2 separate regions of the Homo sapiens genome follow, and region 1 is linked to region 2. Evidence: promoter capture Hi-C in human tissues and cell types (Jung and others, 2019). All regions are on one chromosome and are shown on one strand. The core of a region is centred on a gene start or on the middle of the fragment in contact, and the rest is flanking DNA. Distances in the headings are between cores, read along the strand shown.

Evidence for each region. Contacts are between HindIII fragments. The study calls those that stand out against the background at their distance.
Region 1: a contact is called between a fragment that was not itself captured here and the fragment with the promoter of NDST3 in region 2, in 1 of the 25 tissues and cell types used here (mesenchymal stem cells).

The regions. Positions count from the first base shown.
Region 1 is chr4:116,581,326-116,586,065 of GRCh38, forward strand. No RefSeq gene overlaps it. Among named protein-coding and RNA genes, the nearest start is that of MIR1973, 280 kb to the left of the region's middle. The HindIII fragment of the contact is 5,800 bases long and covers 586-4,740 here.
Region 2 is chr4:118,031,015-118,036,000 of GRCh38, forward strand. It overlaps NDST3 (N-deacetylase and N-sulfotransferase 3), which reads left to right and starts at 3,472. Exons shown (of 14, transcript NM_004784.3): 1 at 3,472-3,578. The HindIII fragment of the contact is 9,214 bases long and covers 1-4,986 here.

The sequences.
Region 1 (4,740 bases), core at 2,236-4,735, 1.4 Mb before region 2:
CATAATGCTGAACAAAAGTCAGTTGTATCCGTCTATTAAAATCACTCCCTTTTTCTCTTTCTTTATTCTTTTTAACCCTTCCTTTTTCTCTTTCTACTCTTCTCTGCCTCTACCTTCTTCTCCTTCTCCTTCATAACATGAGTTGTAGTACTTGAATAATAAAAATTCATTTAGAAATGCTATATGCCCAAAGAAGAACACATATCTCTATAACAAAAGAAAATATTAGTATAAACAGATTTATCTTAACTTCAGATAACTGACATTGCTCTCATTGGTCAAACAGCATCAACTTCAAATGAATGTCCTTCATAATCATTGAGTCACCATTTTTCGACGTCATTTGGTGATGAAGACTGTAGTAAGTATCATGATGGAGTTGTGATATCAAAGTATTAAAATGGAGAAAAATACATCATTTATAAAGTAAGAAACAAAATTTGGAAAGAAAGGAAAACTATTTGTAGAAACAATATTTACATATAAAGAAAACAAAATTATAGACAATTAAAACTAGGGAAAATATTTAGGAGCTCCTCTGGAGCTTACTCTTAAATTATTGATTTTATTTATCTAGGTATTTCATCTAATAGATATTTCAGCCTACATTTATATCTGAAAGATTTCATAGCACTTTAAGATTTAATAACATTGAGATTATATAAATATAACAAAGTAAAAATATATTAAAAGCTAGATAAAAGGGACTGACCAAAATTGTGAAGCCTCAGTGAGGAATGAATTCTGGCTTTTCTATCAAATGTGTTTTACAGTGTGTAATCCATACTTGAACCCTTTGTTTAATATTTCAAATCCTATTATACTTTTTAAATTTTCCAATTATTAAAATTTAATGTTACATCACATTTTACCTTTAAAGTATTTCATAATTGTGCTATCTATTGCTCTCTAACATTTGTATATGTTGTCCTTGTCTGATATTTCTAACATTTTGAATGATAATTATATCTTAACTACAGATTAGTCTAAGAATGTCAAACCCATTTTCAATTTGAGCAAGTCAAGTTCTCCTAAGGTGAACTTTCCTCTTCTCACCTCTGAAATCAATGTCACTTCAATGTCTCTTTGAAATCTCAAACTTGACTGTGTAAACAAATAACAGAAATACTACTATAAATATATATTTCTTAGAGAGGAGTTTGGCAACTGCTATTTTTCAGCAGTTTGAATATGATATTTCTGAGTGCGTGTATGTATGCACGTGTGTGTGCCTGTGCCTGTGTGTGGTATTTTTTCTTTCTTTCTTTTTTTATTATACTTTAAGTTTTAGGGTTCATGTGCACAACGTGCAGGTTTGTTACATATGTATACATGTGCCATGTTGGTGTGCTGCACCCATTAACTCATCATTTAACATTAGGTATATCTCCTAATGCTATCCCTCCCCACTCTCCCCACCCCACAATAGGCCCCAGTGTGTGATGTATCTTGATTTTCTCTAACCTCCTCAGATCTGAGGTTAGACGTCTGAAATTAATTTTGGAAAATTATTGGTTATTTTTCTTTCAAATTTTTCTTCTCTCCACTTATCTTTCACTTTGAGATTTTAATTACACATTTATTATATCATTTGATATTATTCCATGGCTCCCGGATTCTTTGTGAAGACTTTATTTCACCATTTTTATCATTATGCTTTATTTCTGTGATTTCTACTAACCTATCTTCAAATTTGTTAATTCTTTTTATGGCTTTGTAAAATCTACTGATCAACTCATAGAATACATTTTTTTTTTATTTTGGTTACTCTGTTTTGCATTTCTATCAATTACATGTGATTCTTTTTCAGTTTCCATATTTCTGCAGAAATTACTGCTCTGATCTTGCATTTAGTTTATTTGATGACAACCTTTAAAATATTAATTATAGTTATTATGAATTCACCTCTGATAGTCCCAATATATATAAGTCTGCTTCTGTTCTGCTTTTTTTAATACATCATTTTGTAATGTTTCTTGCAATTTTTTATGACTCATAATTGTTTTTGTCAGAAGACATCTTGTATAGTATAGCTGAAGCTTATTTAAATAGTATTTATGCCCTGAAATGGGCAAATTTTTCCCTTTGCTAGATCTTTAGTATGGGAGTTTGAGTCAGTAAGGTGAGCTTATTTATGTTACTGGGCTCAAATTCTTCTAAGATCACTATGTTTAAAATGGAGCCTGAGTTACCAGAGCGCAATTCTCACTCTTTGGTCTATCTGCAGTTTTAGATATCCCTTGTGTTGTGTCTCCACGTTTGCTGGTGTCTTTGGGACTATGGGTGCTGCTCTAGTATTCTGATCCAACTTCTCTGTTGGACAATTATAATGTCCAACAGTGACAATGTTCTTGCAGGACATTGTCAGAGTTCTTGCTACTTCCCAGCTCTACTTCTTGATCAAGCACATATTCCTGCCCTGTCTTAGTGGTAGATTTTTCCTTTTTCCTTTCTTCAGCTGCAATGGGTTTTCACTGGTACCCAAAGGAGGCAACGTTTTCTGTTGTACCTACAGAAGCTTAAGGTTTTTGCTCAGTAAGAGAGATTTGAGGAAATGGATTTAGGCAGGATTCTGCGCCTTTACTGCAGCCACCAGTGTTTCTATCCCAGGGATTATAGTATTGTTAAGGTACCCTGAAGGTCTGATAAATGTTAAACAGGTGATTTCCTTCTGACAAAAGTCTCTACATAGTGAGAAGTTTCTGAATTTTTTCAGACATCATTTACTACCACACAAACCTCCAATTCACTTTTCCTTATAACCTATTAAGTGAATTAATGTGTCTTCTAGTATTTTCTTTTGCCTATTTACCCCAAACTATCTTTTCTTACTAGCATTCATTTGTACATGATGGCCTAATCTAGAATTCATGAGTTAAAAACTAAAATTATAATAATAAATTAAATGTCTTTAAAATCAGAAAAAAATAGGAAGAGGGCTTTGAGAGTTATTGTTTCCTGGGTTTTTAAGAGACAAACTACTAGGATCCACTTATATCAGAAGTGAAAATAAAATTCATTAAGCTTGCACATCACATCATAAAGTGAGCACTGTTTTTTTCCCACTTACATTGAGCTTTTAATTTTTCTTTTACTTAGAAAAATAAAAATATTTCTGTTTTACGTGAAATTTTTAAGTGATGAAGAACCACTTATTTTTCAGGTTATAACTGGTAAATATGAAATTATTTTAGCTGATAAATTTTAATAGCTAAAATTATTTTGAAATTAGAGAATTAGTAGTTAAGTTTTCAGTCATGAAGGACAATATTCTATCAACAAACATAGATATATCTAAAGCAATATTAAAATGTATATGAGTTGTTTAAAACATCCAATGAATTACTTCTCAAAGCAGGAGTCATACTTTCTAACAGTATTGAAATAATCTGTCACAAATATATACTGATATTTTAAGAAGTGTCACATTATACCAGTGCTAATTTTCAAATCAGTCAGCACGTGCCCATTATTGAACTCAACTGGGAGTCACAAAGAATACAGTCCTACAACTGTTCATAATAGAATTGCAAGAGCTGAGACAAATGAAGAATGAAATTTGTTCAACAAGAACTCTTTCAAGAAAAAAATTCTTTCCACTTGATTTTATAAAATAAATCTTCTAAAAACCCTTGATTATTCTTTAATTACATCAGCAATCTAGGAGACCTGTGTCTAAATGGAAGAAAGGCCTTGGACTTCCCCAGGCATCCAATATCTCGATCTCTGCATCAGAACATGAAGAAATGGATGAGGGTTATAGTACATTATGCCAGAGTCAATGCCATTTGGCTCTTTCAGTTTCAGAAAATAAATTATATTTATTTTTTCAACTTAATTGCTAATAGGGAGGATACAATTATAAATACTTTCAATTATATATGACATGCAATTTTATAAGTACTTATTTTTATTCTAATATAATAATTATACAACTCCAAAACCTGGGTGATTGAATATGCTAAAACAAACAAACAAAAACAACCAACAAACTAGTCTGCCAACACCAGTATATTCTATTTTTTTGTTCTTTGGGAAGTACTAAAAAAATTATTCTCTAGTTCCACAAAGAAGTCTAACTAGCGCTACAGTAAAGACTCATAAATTCTTTGGGCAATGACATCTGGAAACGTTCCAGAAAAAACCTTAACTAATATGCAATCCATATGGCACGTTCCTGGAAGCAAACCTTCAGAGAGAATCAGAATATAGTCCAGCTGCTCTTTAACAGAACATGCAATGAATCTTCTGCAAACTCAACTGCTATACCTGTGCTTGAGAGACAGTTTTATTCAGCTTGATATCTATTAGTATGTAATAACTTTCTTTTCTCTTTTTATTTTTAGGTATACCCTAATCATGGTATTTTAACTCTTGCTTTTCTTTAGTTTTAAATATTTGTGGGTACCTAGTAGGTGCATATATTTGGTATTTTAACTTTTAACTTCATCTTTTAATCTGCTAAATTTTAGCCTCTATTTCCCCATTAGAACCAAACGTGACTTCTTTCCATTAACCACAATAGGGAGAAAATAATTGAAAGAATGAGATGGTTGAGGCATGTTTTGTTTGTTTTTTAAAATTGTTTCCATCTTCTAAAACCTTGAGAGATGGATAGATAGATATTTAGATATACTTAGAGATATTAATAATATAATAGCTACATATACTATTTATTATATAAGTAATGCCTATTACTTATATAAATGTGGTACCAATTTCTTATATGAAAGTAATGCT
Region 2 (4,986 bases), core at 2,222-4,721:
TCTACTTGGGCACTGCCACAGTGTTAGACTAAATAGGAATACCTCTCTGGAGGAAAATTTTTCGCTGGCCTTAATGTCCCTGGGTTAGGAACAGAAGATTGGAAGGGAGGGCTACAGGGGGCAATGGTTGGCCCTGATGTCTGTCCCTTCTTACCTCTCTGCTGGGCACGCAGCCCAGGAGTGAAAGGAAATATAGGCAACATATCAATCTGCTATTACACTGGCTTAGACGACATATGTGTGCAGATGAGGACTTCTCTAATAGAGGTGTAAGATTTGAGGATCTCATAGGAAAAGACAGCATGATCCTAAGCTGTTTGTAATTCCAGATGGATGGTTGGAAGGAGCAGTAGCTGGTAAAGGTAACAACTCTCCCAAAAACAATGAGAAATTTGATTATGTCTCCTATCCATCTTAGCTGAAGAAAACCCCAAAATACAGTCATAAGAATAGTAAGTATCTTATTTTGTAGAAGAAGTTTTTCTGGTTTTGTGTTTTTGTGCAGAGGAGGTAGAAAAAGAAAAGAAAAAGTGAATATCATTTCTGAATCTGCCTACATTCCCTGAAACATTTAGGAATTTATGAATTCATGAATCTTGTCTATTCTCTGAAATCTTGTAGAAGAGCCTGACCTCCTACAGCTATATCAATATAAGCGACTGAAGGGCAGAGAGTGGTCCTGCTTTTCTTTTTTCAATATTATTGTATTCCCAGAGCCATTTAGTAGGTGTTCAATAATTTTTTTGATTACTAAAATGATGAATGCATGGCTGCTCGGAAGACAGAGCAGGCTCTCTCTTGGGTAAGGAGTACATAGAAAAATAAATGTGGGTTCTTAAAATTCTTAAAAGGCACAAGACTTCCAGGGAACACTCCAACTAAAAAATAAATAAAACCAATCTAATACATGTTACTTGGCCAAAGAATTCTAGCATCCTGACATTTTTGTGGGCTTCCAGAAGGAGCAATTGGTTCAGTCACATCTGTAACCCCTCCATCACATAGAACAAAAAGGATATATAACTTCCTGATTTTAAAACACAATTCCAACTAACCCTTTCAGGACATTGGGTTCTAATTGAAGGTCTTGAACTACGAATCCAAATACCCTGATAAAGTTAATAAACAACCAGAATATTTAATTACTGTATCATCGTTTGTGTCTCTTTCAGTTTCAAGGGACAGCAAATGCAGTCCAAGCTGCCTTAAGACAAAAGTGAATGTGGCCAGTCGCGGTGGCTCAAGTCTGTAATCCCAGCACTTTGGGATGCCGAGGTGGGCGGATCTCGAGGTCAGTAAATCGAGACCATCCTGGCTTACACGGTGAAACCCCGTCTCTACCAAAATACAAAAAATTATCCGGGCCTGGTGGCGGGCTCCTATAGTCCCAGCTACTCGGGAGGCTGAGGCAGGAGAATGGTGGGAACCCGGGAGACGTAGCTTGCAGTGAGCTGAGATCACGCCACTGCACTCCAGCCTGGGCGACAGAGCGCGACTCCGAATCAAAAAAAAAAGTGAATGTATTTGTTTATGAATGAAAATATCCAGAGATAGAACTTATTTCAGCTACAGCTCGATTCCAAGCTCGAAAATCTCCATCTGGGTTTCACTTTTCTCCAACTCTCAGTTCTGCCTTCCTGAGTATCAGCTTTATTTTCAGACTTCAAGCTCTAAGCTCACATCTTCATTATGCAAAGTCCAGTAGAAGAGAGTCCACTTTCTTAAGAGAGGAAGGAAAAAAAAAAGTCCCAGAATGGTGGTTTTTTTCTGTTTTTCTCTCTGATTGGCCAGACCTGGGTTACATACCTACCCATGCTACCAGGACAGAAAGCCATCACTGGCCAGACCTGAGCTGTGGGTCTACCAGTGAGTCAGCAGCGGCTGACATCACCTAAAGCAAATGGGCTGCGGGGTGAGATCAAGTGGTTGGATCTTCCAAAATGAACAGGAGTACTGTTTCAACAAGAGTGAGTGCTGGGAAGCAAAACCACAAATGGCCAATACAAAGTATCATTAGTAGACCCCACTTAATACAATTCACATGTTAGTGGAACCAAATGAAATTTTTAAAAATATATATCATTCGATTCACACTTCTAATCAAACTATAGTTCTGGAGAGGGTAACCTCACACCTTGAATCCAAAATATCTCTTCAGTTGCTGGCCTTCCACTTGTCTTCAGGAGCTGAAACACATGGCATTTGAAAAAAACTGGCGAACAGAGGAAACTCTTGCAGCCTCGCAGCCGCCCTGGTCCAGTGCCAACGGCAGGAGCACCACAGGAAGGGACCGCGCGGGTGCGCCCCACCCTTCCAGCGTCGCCTCGGGGACTCGCACCCCTTTCCCTGGCCGCACAAGACGTTTCATCCTTGGCGGCCGCCGCCAACCCGCCGGGAGGGGCGGTCGGAACTGGCAGGCCGGGGCGGAACCCCCGGGGTCTCCTTGTCGAGGCCCGGGCAGCCAGATCCTCAGGGCCGGTCCGGGCGGGAGCCCGGTCGATGGAGGCGGCTCCCGTCCTCAGCTCCCGCTCCCTCCCCTTCCCCGGGGCGGGCGCGCGCGGGCCGGGAGCTGGGAGGCGGCGGCTCCCGCCCGGGAGGCGGTGGCGAGGGCGGCGGAGGCGCGGCCGGGCGGGTCCCAGGGCCGTGGTTCTCCAGCGCAGGAGTCCCCGGCGCACCCGCTGCGCTCGCCCCGCAGCCGCAGCCTGAGCGGCCGAAGTCGCCACCAGCTGTGTCCGCGCAGATCCCGGGCGCGGAGGGGAGAGGTCGCCCGCTTGTCGCCCCCGCCGGACCCCGGGCACCGCGTAGCACCCAAGCGCCACCCGGACGAGGGGCCCTGGGGAGCGGCTGAGGCCGAAGACCCGAGGGAAGGAGGAGCCCGCGGACGGCTGCAGCCCCAGGTAATCTCCATGGAGGACGGGGCCGGTCTCCTCGCCCAGAAACCCGATCCGGGCGCCTTGGAATGCGGACTCCAGAGGCGGCATCTCGACCAGACAAGTTTCTCGCGGCTTGGAATGAGGGAGTCCTGAAACCGACACTCGTTTTATTTAACCAGCTTTTTTCTCCTGTTTTAAATAAGTTTATTTAGACAATGGAAAGAAAAAAACAAACAGCCTCTTGAGTGACTGTGGGTTTGTAAATATAATCCTAAAAGTTTTTCATGGTGTGGTTATTTGCTTGCTCATATTTATTAACCTGTTAACTCTTCCGCTAGTCAGAAAATTGACATGTAAAATATTCTTTGAGGAACGTTACAAGTTTGCTGTTGTATTCGGGCATCCTGTTATTCATCAGCTTAGTTAGCATCTGTCTTCCCCCGAAGTGGTACCAAAGCCGGTCCCTTGGCGACGGGTCTTGCATGTGACACTCTTGCCCTCTAGTGCCTCACCAGCTTGGTAGCAGTTTGATGGCTAATATTAATAAGATGTTACATAACATGAGAGTACTGGGCCAGGACTGGTGTTGCTACCACTTGTAAAGTCAAAAAGCCTGAGCCGATGGTAACGAGTGGTACTGTTTCCGTTTCTTTTCCATCTATTGCAACTTTCTCAAGCATTTTCAGCTCTGAACTTTAATTCCAGGTAAGTGTATTTATTTATTTATACTGTGCATTAATGCCTCACTCATAAATGTAGGGGCTTTTAAGAGATAACAACTTTGCTTTCAAATAATCTAAAAATTTCAAGATTGAACAAGTGCTTCATTTTATTCTTGAAGAAGAAATATAGAGTATTTTGATTAAATTAAGTGAAACAAAGGACCGTCTCATTCAGGGATGATTTTAAAGCTTCCCTTTCATAAGATTATGGTACTAAAGAAATGACCTCTTGTAATTGTTTAAGATATTCACCAACTTATAATGATTCTGAAGTAGATCTGTTTAACAGAACACATGTCTGTTGCCTTGACAGAATTTTGTAAGGAATATCAGAGACTTTAAACTACCTGCCTATCTACACAGTAATGATCCTCAAAAGGCTTTCTATTTGATGCAGTTTATAGACATTATTTAAAACTATACAATTAATAAAATTAAATGGAAATGGAAAGAATCAATCTAGGTATCAAATACAGAAACTTTAAATTTAAAGAAAACAGATATATCTTCTATTTAATATATCCATTTTGTGGGGGCAGGTAAAAGCAAAGTTACATCTTTAAGGGGTTTACTCAGATCCTTTTTCAAATAGTTTTTCTAATAGCTGGATACTGTTTAAGCATCAGAGTTATTTAATGTCGAAAATGTATTAGTATCTATATTCTTTATAAACATATTGAAATATAGCAACATGTAATCTGGAAGAGTTTAGAAGAAAACCCTTCTAGACAATGCAAACAGCTACATTCTTAATACATTTGTATTAAATTAAAATACAAATCAAATATTGAGATGTGTGCAACTGATCTGGGACACACACTTTTTTTTTGTTTTTTTTTTTTGCCCTTAGAAAATTTCATGTTATCAACTACTGAGCAATGCTGTTCACCACCAGAGAGCAGGATGATATGGCAGAGAAACTCTAGAATATCCGATATTCAGCTGAAGGGAATTTTTTTCCCTTTTTCTTCATCCATACCTTCCTATCAATATTATATTTAAGATGGAGATTTCAAATATAAGTTTGAAGGAGGCTCCTTTTTAAAATAGTACTGAACATATAAAGAGGCTTGCCTAAGATAAGCTCTTTTTTTTCTTTCTCTGGTTAACACAGTATCTACCATTTCTAATTTTGTTATCATTTTTCTTTATCATCTTGATGGTAAAACAGAAGATTTGTTTCTTTGTGTAAATAATGTTAATTTTGAGCTTGTCACATGAGTTAATTTTCTTCATAGTCTTTAAAATGAAGAATTCTTACATTACTAAAATGTTTTAGATAAAATAAAACTTTTATCTCTTTCTGGAGATATTTGTTATAGTTTAGTTTGGTGGAGTTATATATACCCTCTTTTTAAATTAATTTTCTTGAGAAAAGCATTATTTCTGAA